Regions from separate parts of the Homo sapiens genome. Here all the other regions are linked to region 3. Evidence: promoter capture Hi-C in 16 types of primary human blood cells and fetal thymus (Javierre and others, 2016). All regions are on one chromosome and are shown on one strand. Each heading gives the region's core, a stretch centred on a gene start or on the middle of the fragment in contact. The rest is flanking DNA. Distances are from core to core; before and after follow the strand shown.

What was found. Contacts are between HindIII fragments. The CHiCAGO score rates a contact against its expected background, and 5 or more counts as called.
Region 1: a contact is called between a fragment that was not itself captured here and the fragment with the promoter of NOL8 in region 3, in 2 of 17 cell types (endothelial precursors and erythroblasts). The highest score is 5.8, in endothelial precursors.
Region 2: a contact is called between a fragment that was not itself captured here and the fragment with the promoter of NOL8 in region 3, in 2 of 17 cell types (M2 macrophages and M1 macrophages). The highest score is 5.6, in M2 macrophages.
Region 4: a contact is called between a fragment that was not itself captured here and the fragment with the promoter of NOL8 in region 3, in 6 of 17 cell types (M1 macrophages, M2 macrophages, endothelial precursors and 3 more). The highest score is 11.5, in M1 macrophages.
Region 5: a fragment that was not itself captured here is called in contact with the fragment with the promoter of NOL8 in region 3 in 17 of 17 cell types (monocytes, erythroblasts, megakaryocytes and 14 more); the score reaches 11.5 in monocytes.

What each region holds. Positions count from the first base shown.
Region 1 is chr9:92,792,255-92,794,954 of GRCh38, forward strand. No RefSeq gene overlaps it. Among named protein-coding and RNA genes, the nearest start is that of BICD2, 29 kb to the left of the region's middle. The HindIII fragment of the contact is 8,551 bases long and covers 1-2,700 here.
Region 2 is chr9:92,695,094-92,697,822 of GRCh38, forward strand. No RefSeq gene overlaps it. Among named protein-coding and RNA genes, the nearest start is that of IPPK, 26 kb to the left of the region's middle. The HindIII fragment of the contact is 2,525 bases long and covers 160-2,684 here.
Region 3 is chr9:92,323,941-92,326,640 of GRCh38, forward strand. NOL8 (nucleolar protein 8) reads right to left here and starts at 1,410. Exons shown (of 17, transcript NM_017948.6): 1 at 1,366-1,410; 2 at 83-269. The coding sequence starts at 221. CENPP (centromere protein P) reads left to right here and starts at 2,013. Exons shown (of 8, transcript NM_001012267.3): 1 at 2,013-2,165. The coding sequence starts at 2,059. RefSeq lists enhancers at 692-1,580, 1,359-1,478, 1,509-1,618. The HindIII fragment of the contact is 10,709 bases long and covers 1-2,700 here.
Region 4 is chr9:92,616,459-92,619,158 of GRCh38, forward strand. CENPP (centromere protein P) reads left to right here. Exons shown (of 8, transcript NM_001012267.3): 8 at 1-2,700. The region is part of intron 12 of IPPK (inositol-pentakisphosphate 2-kinase); the gene reads right to left. LOC100128361 (a long non-coding RNA gene) reads left to right here and starts at 1,592. Exons shown (of 1, transcript NR_036505.1): 1 at 1,592-2,700. The HindIII fragment of the contact is 2,995 bases long and covers 1-2,700 here.
Region 5 is chr9:92,664,295-92,667,023 of GRCh38, forward strand. The region is part of intron 1 of IPPK (inositol-pentakisphosphate 2-kinase); the gene reads right to left. Among named protein-coding and RNA genes, the nearest start is that of IPPK, 4.5 kb to the right of the region's middle. The HindIII fragment of the contact is 6,089 bases long and covers 1-2,729 here.

The DNA.
Region 1 (2,700 bases), core at 186-2,685, 470 kb after region 3:
TTACACACCTCCATGCATGTGTGCTCACACTTAACATGTGGTGGTCAAGGAGGATCCCCACTAGATAGATCCCTCCACTCTTGGGGTGATCTGGGGAAGATGGCCGGGAAGGATGCTGCTACGACTATGCAGTTCTTCACAACAGCACCTCAACTTTCTTGTCTCCTACCTGCTGAAAAGAGCCTGAGATCAGGCCCACAGCTGCAAGTGTTGGAAGCATCTGCCACTGGGTAGGTAAAGCTCACACTACCACACCTAGCTAATTTTTGTATTTTTAGTAGAGACAGGGTTTCACCATGTTGGTCAGACTGGTCTCGAACTCCTGATCTTGTGATCCGCCGGCCTTGGCCTCCCAAAGTGCTGGGATTACAGGCATGAGCCACCGCACCCGGCCAGAGGCAGGAATGATTCTTAAGTGAGAAACAGTTGTTATATCTTTTAACATTTGTGTCAGAAATCCTAAAGGTCTGATGGGATAGCTGTGCCTCCACTGCATCTGGCAAATCAGAGGTGGACAGTGAGTGCAGCTGTATCTCCTGGTGGTCAGGGCAGCCTCACAGTTCGTCTCTTTGCAGCCCTACCTTACATGACTGGAAATGGCCCTGCGGGAGGCACCTGCTGAAGTGGTATTGCTGCTGGCCATCTGGGCCTACACTGCTGGCCATCTGGGCCTACACAGTGGATGAACCTAACATCCCTTCATCCTTTCTAAAGGTGTGAAAGTTGGGTGAAAATCAATGACAAATGGAGAGAAGGAGAAATAGTAGCTGAGGGCAAAGGAATGAATAAATGGGTTATGCAATGAGAGAAACCCAACAATATATTGGTGCCTCGAGGTAAGCTCAGAGCAAGGGAATTATATTGTCTCTTAGCACAGTTATACCAGATGCCTGAAAGGGTAAACTTGTGTGTTTGTCAAACCATCCCTGTTTTAGGAATCTGACAAGGTCGAATAGCAACCTGCAAACCTAGTGACATCACTGTCAGAGACACTGTGGTCACACGACGATGACCAAGTGGAACTCTAGCATCTTTCAACTCTGACTTTTCAGGGTACATCTACAACAAAGGGTATCTTTTGGGAAGGGTTTTTTGGGAACTACTCCCTATTGGGGCATCAGACTGTGTAGTGTATGATTGCTGGTTGACTGACTCCTGTGTAACTATAAACCCAGGTGATCAGAGGCTTACAAAGTTCTCCCTGGTTATCTTGGACGACATAGAATGGTGGCCTGTCCAACATGCCACAGTGTGTTGTGCACAGACACAAACCACCCTGTTCTGTGAATGGAAAGCTCTTACACAAACCAGGAAAAACCACTGGGATGGTGATGGAACTAAAGCAGTAGGCATCACCCGGTGGGTCCAAATTCCCCAAGGGAGCAGCCCCTCCATGCACAAGTAAGACAATGGAAACCTCTATGACATATTCAGACTAAATGACAATGAGGTGTGACCACGACTTACAAAATGCAAGTATGGGGAAACCCAATACTTTTGAGTAATGAAACATGTATCCTAACTGCGCTCAGCCACGAGGACACAGTGGCAACAGCATGCATGGTGGCCTGAACACTGGCCCACCAGACAGAAAAGGGCCTTAGGGGAGACGGGTGCTGGCCTCGGCTTCATGGGATGAGCTGAATTTGCTTTTTTTTTTTTTTTTTGAGGGGGAATCTCACTCTTGTTGCCCAGGCTGGAGTGCAGTGGCGCAATCTTGGCTGTCTGCAACCTCTGCCTCCTGGGTTCAAGCTATTCTCCTGCCTCAGCCTCCCGAGTAGCTGGGATTACAGACACCCGCCATCACGCCCAGATAATTTTTGTATTTAGTAGCGATGGGGTTTCACCATGTTGGTCAGGCTGGTCTCAAACTCCTGACCTCAAATGATCCGCCCACCTTGGCCTCCCAAAGTGCTGGGATTCCAAGTGTGAGCCACCGCACCCGGCCTGAATTTGCTTTTGATGAAGAGTAGCACTCAGTGGGGAAAAATTTATTGAAAAAAATAAGCAGATTAAAGGGAGCAAGGGGTGGGAGTCAGCCTGGGAGGACAATGAGGCTTCGGTGAAGTGGGTTGGGTAACGTTGGGTAAAGCTAGCACCCAGTGTTGGGAAAGGGCTTCTCCCTAGATCCAACAGGGTTACTTGACTATTTTGTTACAGATGGAGGCCAAAGTGGCCGTGGGGCAGTGGCCCTCTGTCCTGGTTGCTGAGGCTCAAGGGGCCCACCTGTGGGAATCGTATGGGTCTCCAAACCTATGGAAGCTCTCTGAGAGCTCTTGCAACTTCGACCAATGCACTCTGCTCTGGATAACCCACATCCTGTAGTATAATCAGCAGGAAAAGGAACTAGTCTGAATACCACCTACATCCCTGTAGGAGAGAGTATGTGAGCCCTGCTATATAACAGAAGCCAGTCCTGCAATACAAGCCTGTGAACTAAGACAAGGCGACTGACTTTGAAGCCCAGGAATTACCGAGTCATGGTCAATCGTTTTTTTTTTTTTTTTGAGATGGAGTCTTGCCCTGTCTCCCAGGCTGGAGTGCAGTGGCATGATCTCCGCTCACTGCAGCCTCCACCTCCCAGGTCCAAGAGATTCTTCTGCCTTAGCCTCCCGAGTAGCTGGGACTACAGGCGCTCACCACCATGCCCGGCTAATTTTTGTATTTTTTAGTACAGATGGGGTTTCACCATATTGGCCA
Region 2 (2,729 bases), core at 172-2,671, 370 kb after region 3:
TGTGGAGGGCTTTTAACATGAAAGGATGTCGAATTTTTTCAAAAGCCTTTTCTGCATCTATTGAGATGATAATGGGGTTTTTGTTTTCAGTTCTGTTTATGTGAGAAATCACATTTATTTAATTGTATATGTTGAACCAACCTTGCATCCCAGGAATAAAGCTTACTTGGTCATAGTGGATTAGCTCTTAAATGTGCTGCTGGATTCAATTTGCTAGTGTTCTGCTGAGGATTTTTGCATCTAATTTTATCAGGGATATTAGCTTAAAGTTTTATTTTTTTCACCAGGTTTTGGTATCAGAATGATTCCGGCCTCATAGAATAAATCAGGGAGGAGGTCTGTCTCCTCAATTTTTTAGAATTGTTTCAGTAGGATTTGTACCAGCTATTCTTTACATGTCTGGTAGAATTCAGCTGTGAATCCATCTGGTCCAGGGCTTTTTCTGGTTGGTAGGTTTTTGTTGTTGTTGTTGTTGTTGTTACTATTGATTCAATTTTGGAACTTGTTATTGGTCTGTTCAAGTATTCAATTTCTTCCTGGTTCAATATTGGTAAGTTGAATGTTTACAGCAATTTATCCATTTCTTCTAGGTTTTCTAGTTTGTGTGCATAGAGATGTTCATAATACTTTCTGAGGGTTTCTTGTATTTCAGTGAGGCCAGTGGTAATGTCACCGTTGTCATTTCTGATTGTGTTTCTTTGGATCTTCTCTCTCTTTTTTTCTTTATCAGTCTAGCTAGAGGTCTATGAGTCTCATTTTTTTTTTCACCATAAACATATATCATTTTTATTTGACAATTAAAATAAGTTAATTAATTGATAATAATAATAAAATTGAGTATAGTAGCTCAGTCATTCACTCCTTGTACTTTTTGACTCTATCTTCTTCAGAGAGGACAAATTCAGCACTGTTCTTGGCTGTGAGATCAATAGCGCTCCACTGCAGGGAAGACCTATGGGTTACATGTCTGTCCACACCTGGGGTTTACTCTCTTTTTTTTTATTATACTTTAAGTTTTAGGGTACATGTGCACAACGTGCAGGTTAGTTACATATGTATACATGTGCCATGTTGGTGTGCTGCACCCATTAACTCGTTATTTAACATTAGGTATATCTCCTAATGCTATCCCTCCCCCCTCCCCCCACCCCACAACAGGCCCGGGTGTGTGATGTTCCCCTTCCTGTGTCCATGTGTTCTCATTGTTCAATTCCCACCTGTGAGTGAGAACATGCGGTGTTTGGTTTTTTGTCCTTGCGATAGTATTTCAAAGAACCAACTTTTGGTTTCATTGATCTTTTGTATGGGTTTTCACATGTCAACTTTGTTCAGTTCAGCTCTCATTTTAGTTATTTTTCTTCTGCTGGCTTTAGGGTTGGTTTGCTCTTGTTTTTCTAGTTCCTCTAAGTGTGATGTTAGGTTGTTAATTTGAGATCTTTCTGACTTTTTGATGTGGGTGCTCACAGCTATAAACTTTCCTCTTACCACTGCTTTAGCTGTGTCCCAGATATTCTGGTATGTTGCATCCTTGTTTTCAATAGTTTCAAAGAGTTTCTTGATTTCTGCTTTAATTTCATTCTTTACCCAAAGTCATTCAGGAGCCAGTGGTTTAATTTCCATATATGGTATTGAGAGATCTTCTTGTTTTTAATTTCTATTTTTATTGCACTGTGGTTGAGAGTGTGGTTGGTTTGTTTTTTTTTTAACTTGTTGAGAATTGCTTTATGGCTGAGTGTGCAGTCAATCTTAAGAGTATGTGCCATGTGTACATAAGAACAGAAAAACGTATATTCTGTTGTTGGGTGGAGCATTCTGTAGATGTCTGTCAGGTGCATTTGGTGAAGTGTTGAGTTTAGGTCCCAAATACCTTTATTAGTTTTCTGTCTCAATGTTCTGTCCAACACTGTCAGTAGGGTGTTGAAGTCCCCTACTATTATTATGTGGTTATTTAAGTCTCTTTGTAGGTCTCTAATAATTTGTTTTATGAATCTGGGTGCTCCAATTTGGGATGCATATATATTTAGGATAGTTGAATTGAACTCTTTATCATTAATGGAATGTCCTTCTTTGTCCTCTTTGAGCATTGTTGGTTTATATTTTGTCTGAAGTAAGAATAGTAACTCTTGTTCTTTTTCGTTTTCTCTTTGCTTCACAGATCTTTCTCCATTGCTTTACTTTGGGCTTATGAGTGTCATGCATATAAGATGGGTCTCTCTCTTTTTAAATTCTTTCACTATGTTGCCTAGGCTGGTCTTCAACTCTTGGGCTCAAGTGATCCTCCTGCTTTGTCCTCCTAAAGTGCTGGGATTAGAGATGTGAGCCACCACTCCTAGCCAAGAGATGGGTCTCTTGAAGACAGCATACAGTTGGGTCTTGCTTCTTTATCCAACTTGCCACTCTGTGCCTTTTAAGTGGGATGTTTTCTCATTTACATTCAAGGTTAATATTGATATGTGAGGATTTGATCCAGTCATGTTGTCAACTGGTTGTTACACAGACTTGATTGTATAGTTGCTTTATAGTGTCAGTGGACTATGTGTTTTTATGGTGGCAGGCAACAGTCTTTTGTTTTGTATTCCATATTTAGCACTCCCTTAAGGACCTCTTGTAAGGCAGTCTGGTAATAATGAATTTCCTTAGTGTTTGCTTGTGTAAAAAGGATTTTATTTATCCTTTGCTTATGAAGCTTAATTTAGCTGGATATGACATTCTTGGTTGGAATTTTGTTT
Region 3 (2,700 bases), core at 160-2,659:
TTATCTTGGGGTTGTTTTATTTTCTAGCACTTAACCTGAGTTATGTCTGCCTATAACTGCCCAGTGAAGGACCATAAATTACCTTGGTCATCTTTCCGTGTGATGATCTCCACATCCGAAACTTCTCCAAATCTGCTGAACTGATTTTGTAGGTCTGCCTCAGAAATGTCCTGGCTAAGGCCACCCACATAAAGGCGCTTCGTTTCTCTGTTCACTTTCATGAAGGCTGGGCATATACTTGGGTGTGTTTCAGTGGGAAAAGTAATTTTCTGTATACAGAGAAGAGTTCTTTCCCTTAGTTCTTCTAAAATCTAACAAAACAACTACTTCCTCTGAACCTTCTGTATCAAATCCGTCTCCTGGATCTGTATTTCACTTCCTATTGTATTACTTCCAAATTTTAGTCTTCGAGGTTTTGCCCAAGCCCTACATCCACATCTTTCATGAATGCACTTTGGAACAGCAACCCCATACCCATATAGACACAGGTACAGACAGAGTTTTTTTCCTCCAAATGGCCATAATATTACACTCTATCCCTCTTAATTTTATGTATTCATGTTTTTAGATGTTTTTCCTTGACTCACTCATACATTCATTTACTGTCTTTAACAAAGTCTGACAGAAACAGGATGTAACGCACTAAAAGATAAAAAGAGCTAGCCTACCTCTTCCTAATTGTCTCCACCCCCAACCTACCCACCCCAGCCTTCTTCCTCCTAGAAGACCCAAAGAAGTGAATAGAGAGGCTAGGAGCTCCTTATAGTCACAAAAGAATAAAACAAATGGCACAATATTATGTCACAATAAAAGTGCTGCAAAGTGGGGTTCAGACACAAAGATCAAGGGATATAGCGAATACAGACTTGTGTTTTTGCTATGTGCCTGCATTGTACAAAGTAGTTTGCATGTTTCCCATTTTTCAGGAGAGCAGAAGAGGTTAAGTCACTTCCTCAATGCCATACCGAAAATTAGTGAATCCAGGATTATAATGCAGGTCTACCTTCAGAACTTGGAATTCTTAACACTATACTATGAAGGTTGCTGTATCACAGGGGACTCAGGAAAACTTTTCCAGAGGTACTAGGGCCCATCATAGTATCTCTCATTTCGTTTAGCACCCGGCAGGCGCTCAGCTCTCGCCCTTCCCTTCCCCAAGAGCTGACAGACTCTTTCCAGAAGAGACTCCCAACCAGCGTCCACCACATGGCGTGTATTCTGGGCAGAACTTCGGCCTACCTCTTCCCGATAGTCTCCGCCCCCAGCCTACCCACGGCAGCCTTCTTTCTCTGAGAAGACCCAAAGAAGTGAAGAGAGACTAGGAAACGGCCCTGTGACTTCTCATGCCCGAAACCCACTCCTCACCACGTCGTTCACCTAAAGCCAGCGCCGCTGCAGCCCCTAACTTCTGGTCACGTGTCCCAACGGAGCATCCTCTCTTCCTTCCTACTCGATTTCCAACCCAGCCTCCTAAGGTTCCGTTACCACAATTCAGTTCCCAAGAGCTTTTAATTTCCTTTTCCGTCCTCCCACCTTCCCTGACGCCTCCGTCACCTCCCCCTCAACGACTGCAAAAGAGCCTAAACCAAAATCCCCTAGTTTCTATTGAACACTATCGCTGTGTGTACCAATTCCTGGACTAGGTCGGCGTAAGAGAGGAAGTAGGTGAAAAAAATAAAGAGGCGCTCCCCTCCACGTGATCCCAGCCCTGCCTCTTTAGTGAGGCACGCGGCCGGGCGGCTCCAAGGCTGCCGGCTAGGGTGAGCAGCGGAGCGCTTGGGCTTGGAGTAGCAAAGAACGCGCTCTCCAGAGAAAGTATAGCCACTGCTTAGACAGCCAGGGAAACGTGTGCGGGGAAGTGGAGGACTCAGGCTCTCGTGCGAGAGCGGAGTTGGACGTGCAGGGCCGCTGGGGTCACGCGGAGCTCTCCCGCCTCCCCTCCGCGTGAGCTCTGGGATGGTCCGCGCCGGGAGCGCGCGCGAGGCTTGAAGCGCGGGTGAAGCGCGCAGGTCGGAGTGACAGCTGCGCTGCCGGCCCGGCTGCGGTCAGCAACGCGCCATGGACGCAGAGCTGGCAGAGGTGCGCGCCTTGCAAGCTGAGATCGCGGCCCTGCGGCGAGCGTGTGAGGACCCACCGGCGCCCTGGGAAGAGAAGTCCCGAGTCCAGTACGTGACCACCCCAAGTCCCCCAGGGCCCGCTGGCCAGGGTTCCCGGGCCAGGCGGGTGAATCTCCACAGACATCCTCGGTCTCCTACTCCCAGCCCTAGAAAGTGGGCATGAACTGGCATTGATCCTGTCATGACGATGGCCTAGAGTTGGGAGCAGCGCGTACGGCGCCCAGCTGTAAACGCATTGCAGGGTATTAACTCGTTTAATCGCAGTCGTCTGTGTGGATGACTGACAAGGAGGAAGTCTTGACTATATCCCTAGCTAGATAATTCCGCCTCCAGTATGCAGAAGTATCTCTAGTTGGGATTTAATAACTCCGTTTGGTTTCATGGCATTTGTTTTGGTAGGTCAGCTAACCATCTCAACTGATAATGACTTTGTGTTTACGATGACATAAAAATTCCTTTGAAAAATAACTTCGGTAAAAAACTAAGTTGATAAAAGAAAAGTAGTTAATATAGACTGCAGGAGAATTTGACATTCCTCTGAGGTAGGTGCTACTGTTAGCCCTGTTTTATAGTTGAAGAAACT
Region 4 (2,700 bases), core at 104-2,603, 290 kb after region 3:
GAGCCAAGTATTACAAAACCCAACAAAAAGTAAAAAGTAGATCTGGCCATTCCAGCGCCAAATGGATGGAATGTCGACAAGCCTTCTTCTTTGCCTCTCCTGTCTGCTGAGAAACGCAAGCTCCTTTGGTTCACATTTGAAGAGATCTGGTTTCTCATTTTATTCTCAAATTTTATCTTCAGTCCTTTGTATTTTGCTTCTCAGGGCTTAGTTTTGTGGTTTTAACCTCAGAAGTCGTGTGCTTATAACAAGATGTGATTAATTATTTGCCCTGAAAAACACATTTAGGATTACTCCGAGTCCTGAGCTCTGACTGCTGTGTGTCCCGCTTTTCGTCTCCGGGCACTCAGCGCACAGCACTCAAGACACTGGCTAAACAAGTGACCTAAGCTCAGTTCAGTCCAAGAGAAGTATCCTGGGTTCTGGTGTCCCAATGTTTACTACGCTTTGAGATTTAGAAATCAACAAGCCAAACCCCAACTTCAAAAGCTCCTGCCGAGGAGAGGAAATACTGATCAGCACGTCCCTGCTCTGACGCTGCTCACCATGGCCTTGGCGCTCACTGCTGCCCTGCCCCAGAATCCTGTTTGTAGAAAAAACAAATCCCTGACTAAGCTGCTGGGGTAAGTAACTATTCTCATCTGAAGAGTAAACAGCAAATAACTCATTTACAAATTAAGGTCATGAGTCTCGCTCCAGAAGCTGGAGTGTGCCTGCAGCTCATCCCAAGGGGCCACATTTTATTGGGAGAACCTCAGAAGCCCAAGGTACTGCTCAGTTCTGAGGCCTGAGACCCAAGCTGGGTGCACCTGGGCTGGAACAGTCACATCCCCAGCCCATGACTAGGGTTACGTATTTTAAAGGACACCCCAATTTCTCAGAAGCAGCACCTGACAAGACCATGGGTGTAAAGACAGGAAGGATGTTCCAGGCAGCTCCCGGGGAGGGTCTGACTACCTGGGTCAACCACAAGCTAGCTCCATGGGAACCAATGGCAGTGACCAGCGGGCACCAGCTCCTGACACAGAAATGCTCTTCTTCCCCCTCAGTACCCCGGAGGCCAAGACTGGGCAAGAGGCCCCAGGGACACACCTGTCCCTTGTGCCACAAGTGTGCCCTCTAGCAGCCTTGGAGAATGAGGCTCAGGTGGCCTTCTGGCTGCAGGGGGGCAGCCCTTGCCTGGAAGGCCGTTCTCCAGGACACTGACCCGCTGGGGGTTACCGGGGGACCAGCAGCCTCCAAGGGTGCTGGGGATCGGGGTGGAGAAGCCAAGGCCGCACACTGTGTTTCAAATGGGAGGTCGAGAGGAGCATCAGGGTTTAGGCCGGGAAGCTGTGGCAGCTCTCTCCACAGTTCCAAATTCCCAAAGGGACAAAGCTCTGCAGCGACAGGAAGGCAGATCCAACTTGAGACATTTTCCTTTATGACAGGGCAGAAACAGTAGTGCAGAGCTGGAGAAGCCTTTATTTTAGGGGGTGTAAGAAGTTTAAATGTGGTCAATCTATCTGTGAGCTGCAAATTAGTCTAGGGATCTAAATTTAGTCTCAGGTCTACCAGGTATCTCAAGACGCCAAGATGACTCATGATAAATCCCAGCCTTAGTTTGTCCCTAGGCCTCTAGAGCACCACAGTTACTGGAACTTCACAGGTGCGGCCACTGCGCACACCTTCCTGGAAGCAGGCCCAGCCCCACACGCCATGTTCTCGGAGGAGAAGCCTTCTCTGAGATCCTCTCCTTTTGTTGAGAAAGGCCTGGCTAGAGTGCTTTGTGCAGGATGGTTCCAGTGCCTACACCCTAGGTCTGAGAAGCCACATGGCTCAGTGCCTTCAGGACATGCCCTCCCCTCCCCTCCTAGTGTCGTTTCTGCTGAGCAGCTGGTCGTAAGGACCCGGGCCTTCAGCTTTCCCCGCATGCTGGCTTTCCAATTTGACATCACTGACCAGGCACTAAGAGATTCCCAGGTGCTAGACGAGGTGAGTAACATGTCTGTCCTTCAGCGGCCTTTCACAGCCCACCTAAGGGCACCCTGCATCCAAGCACATTTCCATTGCCCAGCTGCATCCTTGGTCGGGGGGCTGCTGAACAGTGGTATCTTCGTGGGTTTTCTCTCATCGAACACCACCAGCTTAATCCAGTTAAGGAATTCCTCATAACTTAGCCCTGTAGGTATTTCCTTAGGGGATAACAGGAGTTTTCAACTAAATAGAACAACCTTTTTTCTACTTCAGTTAGCCCTATAATGTTCCTCAGTATTTCATATTGGAAAGTAAACAATTCTGTGCCTGCCAGGGAACAGGAATCCTGGGAACTGTTTAGTTCAAAAGCACCGGGAAAGTGAGTGGCTGGCAGCCAGCAACCAAGGTCATCTTGACCCAGGAACACATGTTAGAAGAATGTGGAACATTCCGCAAATACTGGGTGCAGGGTTTAGCACCCCTGAAGATCGGTGATGGAGATGCTGTCTAACGACTATGAGATTATCAGTTTCATCCCGAATTCCCAGAAACAGAGGGGACTGGACAAAACTAGTGACATTAGGGAGAGGGGCGGCACATAGGCTGGTTATTCAGAAGAGGAAGCAGAATGAATGCGCGCCTCACAGGCTTTCAAATGACTGTGGTGGTAAAAAGGCAGGTGCGCCATGCTGCCACTGTGGGAGACCGAGGAACAAGGGCCACAGGTACCCACACATCTCAGGG
Region 5 (2,729 bases), core at 167-2,666, 340 kb after region 3:
CAAAGCACATTTGACACCGGATGAAAAGTGACATCACCAAGATGCCTGTGGAGGATGGGAGCCCAGTACTCTGCAGGCAAGAGCAGGGAGGCCAGACTGGAGACAGCCTGGGGTCAGGGCGCAGTAAGTGCTGGCCCCTTGTCCAACCTGTATGGGGCATGTCCTCAAGCCTCGGCAACTCCGTCCTGACCTCATGGTGTCCTCTGCAGGACTGAAGCAGGCACAGGTGTGGGCCATGGGGGAGGTCACACACCCACACAACTCTCAGAACATGGGGAGGCCTGTGGGGATAGGCACACCTCGTGCATGGGGCTGACCCCTATAGGCATGGAAAGCCTCACTGCCTGTAAAGGGGAAGCAGGGCTGCCTAGAGGCCCACAGTGAGGGCCACAGGGAACTGTGAGCAAGTCCGGGCCCTCAGATCTCCCAACCGCTTGGCAACAAGGCAGGAGTGGCCGGGCCCTAGGCACAGCCTTGCTCTCTGCAGACACAGTAATGATGCTTTTCTCACCCTCCTGGATCGCAGCTCTCAGAAGACACAGGAAGTCACTGGGGAGCTTTGCTCTGACTGAATTCTGATGCAGAAGGAGGCTCAGTCAGGCAGAAGAAAAGTGGCTGTGTGACCTCAGAAGGTGTAAAAGTAGGAGGTGAGCCAAGGCCAAACCAACAAACCCCCGTGCACGAGAGGCACTGTCACAGGCTGCAGTCACCAAACAGCAGACCTCATCACGCAACTGCAGATACAAAGAAAGGAATAAACAAAGAGCGAGCCACAAGCACAGCTCTCCAATGAGCTCAAATGAGACAAGAAGGAACATCACCAGGAAAGAAGCCACATCAGCTGCGTCAGCCTAGAGCGCCACTAAAAATCCCAAATGCAGAATACATCACTAGTTTAAACAAAATGCTAGCAGTAACAGAAAGCTAAGACTATTTCAACTAGGTCCAGCTAAAAATTGTAAAAGGGAGCGACCAAGGGCTTGGGCACATGTTATACAGTCAGAAAAAAACAGAGAACATAAACGTATGTGCTTTCAGCATCCACAGTAGGAAGTATGGCCCAGTTAACAGTCCTGCAGGACTGCACAATGGCTTTCCACTTAACCTGTTCTAAGTGATTCTGTAATGGATATCTTTGTGTATAAGATCTTTATTTACGTTTCTAATTATCTCCTTAGAACGGACTACTAGAACAGAAATTAGTAAATCAAAGAGTATAAACTTTTTAAAAATTAATCTTTTTTCCTGAGTATCATACATATCCATTGTAGGAAATTCAGAAAATATTTAAAAAACAAAAAAAAGTAAAAGTGATTCGTGATACTATCAGTTACAGCCACTTAGAACATTTTCATCTATTTTCTTCTAATCATTTTGTAATTATAACCACATCATGCATCTTCTTTTGTAACCTGCTTTTTCTACGTAACTGTAAACACATCCTCATATAAAGGACTTAATTCATCCACTACAAAATAATCATTTAAATTATTAAAATATACAAAATCATGCTGTATGGCAAAAAAAATACATATATATATGATCTATGAACCAGAAATCTTAAAACACAAGATGAGAAGAGAAACAGTAGAAGGGCACCTGACCGCTTGAGCTTCACACCTTCAATGCCCAGACAAATATCCCAAGCACTAAACAGGTACCAAAGGGACACCAAAACTCCCCAGGCAACAAAACAATTTGCAGAAATGATCTGAAGCTCTCAGACTCTCAGAAAGGTCACGAAACTGGAACAACTGGAAGTGAGCAGCTTTGTCCACACATGTGATCAATTTAGTTGGCTGGTAAGCCAACTAAATGGCAAAGTCTTTCCTGTCACCTCTGTCAGTAAGAAGGAAAACATCATGACAGCTTAGTGTCATGACAGGAGTGGGCCACCTTCTGCCCCTGCTCCCCAAGGCTGAGGTGGTCCGGAAGGGGCTCAGTGCCCCAGACAAGTGCATGATCCAGATCTGAAGACACCTAGGAGATGGAATGACAAACCAAACCTAAAGTGACCTTCATAGGACAGGACACTGAGCCAAAACCAACAAGCTGAAGGCGAAGGAGGCAGGCGCAGGCGTCACACAGGAGAGAAATCCTGCGGCAGTGCATAAAGGGGCAACCTGTGGACTTCACTAACCTGAGATGTGGCCACTGGCCCAAGTACTGCACCTTCAGGCTGCAGCGAGGAAACTGTGCCCAGATGGGAAGTTCCCTCATCAAGGAGCCCCCACAGGGTCAGTGTCTGGAGCTCCAGACACACACCAGGGAACATGCCAGGCTGCCGAGAGCCTCTCAAGCATGCCACAGGGTCCACACCACATGAGGCAGAGAACACCATGGTTACCTGTGCCTGGGAAAGTTCAGGTGCACAACCATCCCAAACAGAGGCAGAATGCAAACTGACAGGCAAAATGAGAATCATCCTGGGCCGTCTCTGAGTGGAAGGGCCTTGGGGAAGCTGACCACCTTCTGTCAGGAACACCTTTAAACGCCTCTCTATGGCTGGCCTGCTATTTACCTTCCTGCCCACCCTGGGCACAACCTCCCACCCTCCTGTAGCCCACACCTAGTTCCTCCATCCCCAGGCCTCATTTCCTACAAGTCCTGCGCTGCACAGAAGGCTCTCTCTCATCCCATGTTTGCATACTGCAGGAAGAACATCACTGTGCTCCTTCTAGTGCTGACAGCCAATGACCATGCAGATCTCCTTACCTAGGCCCTCGGCT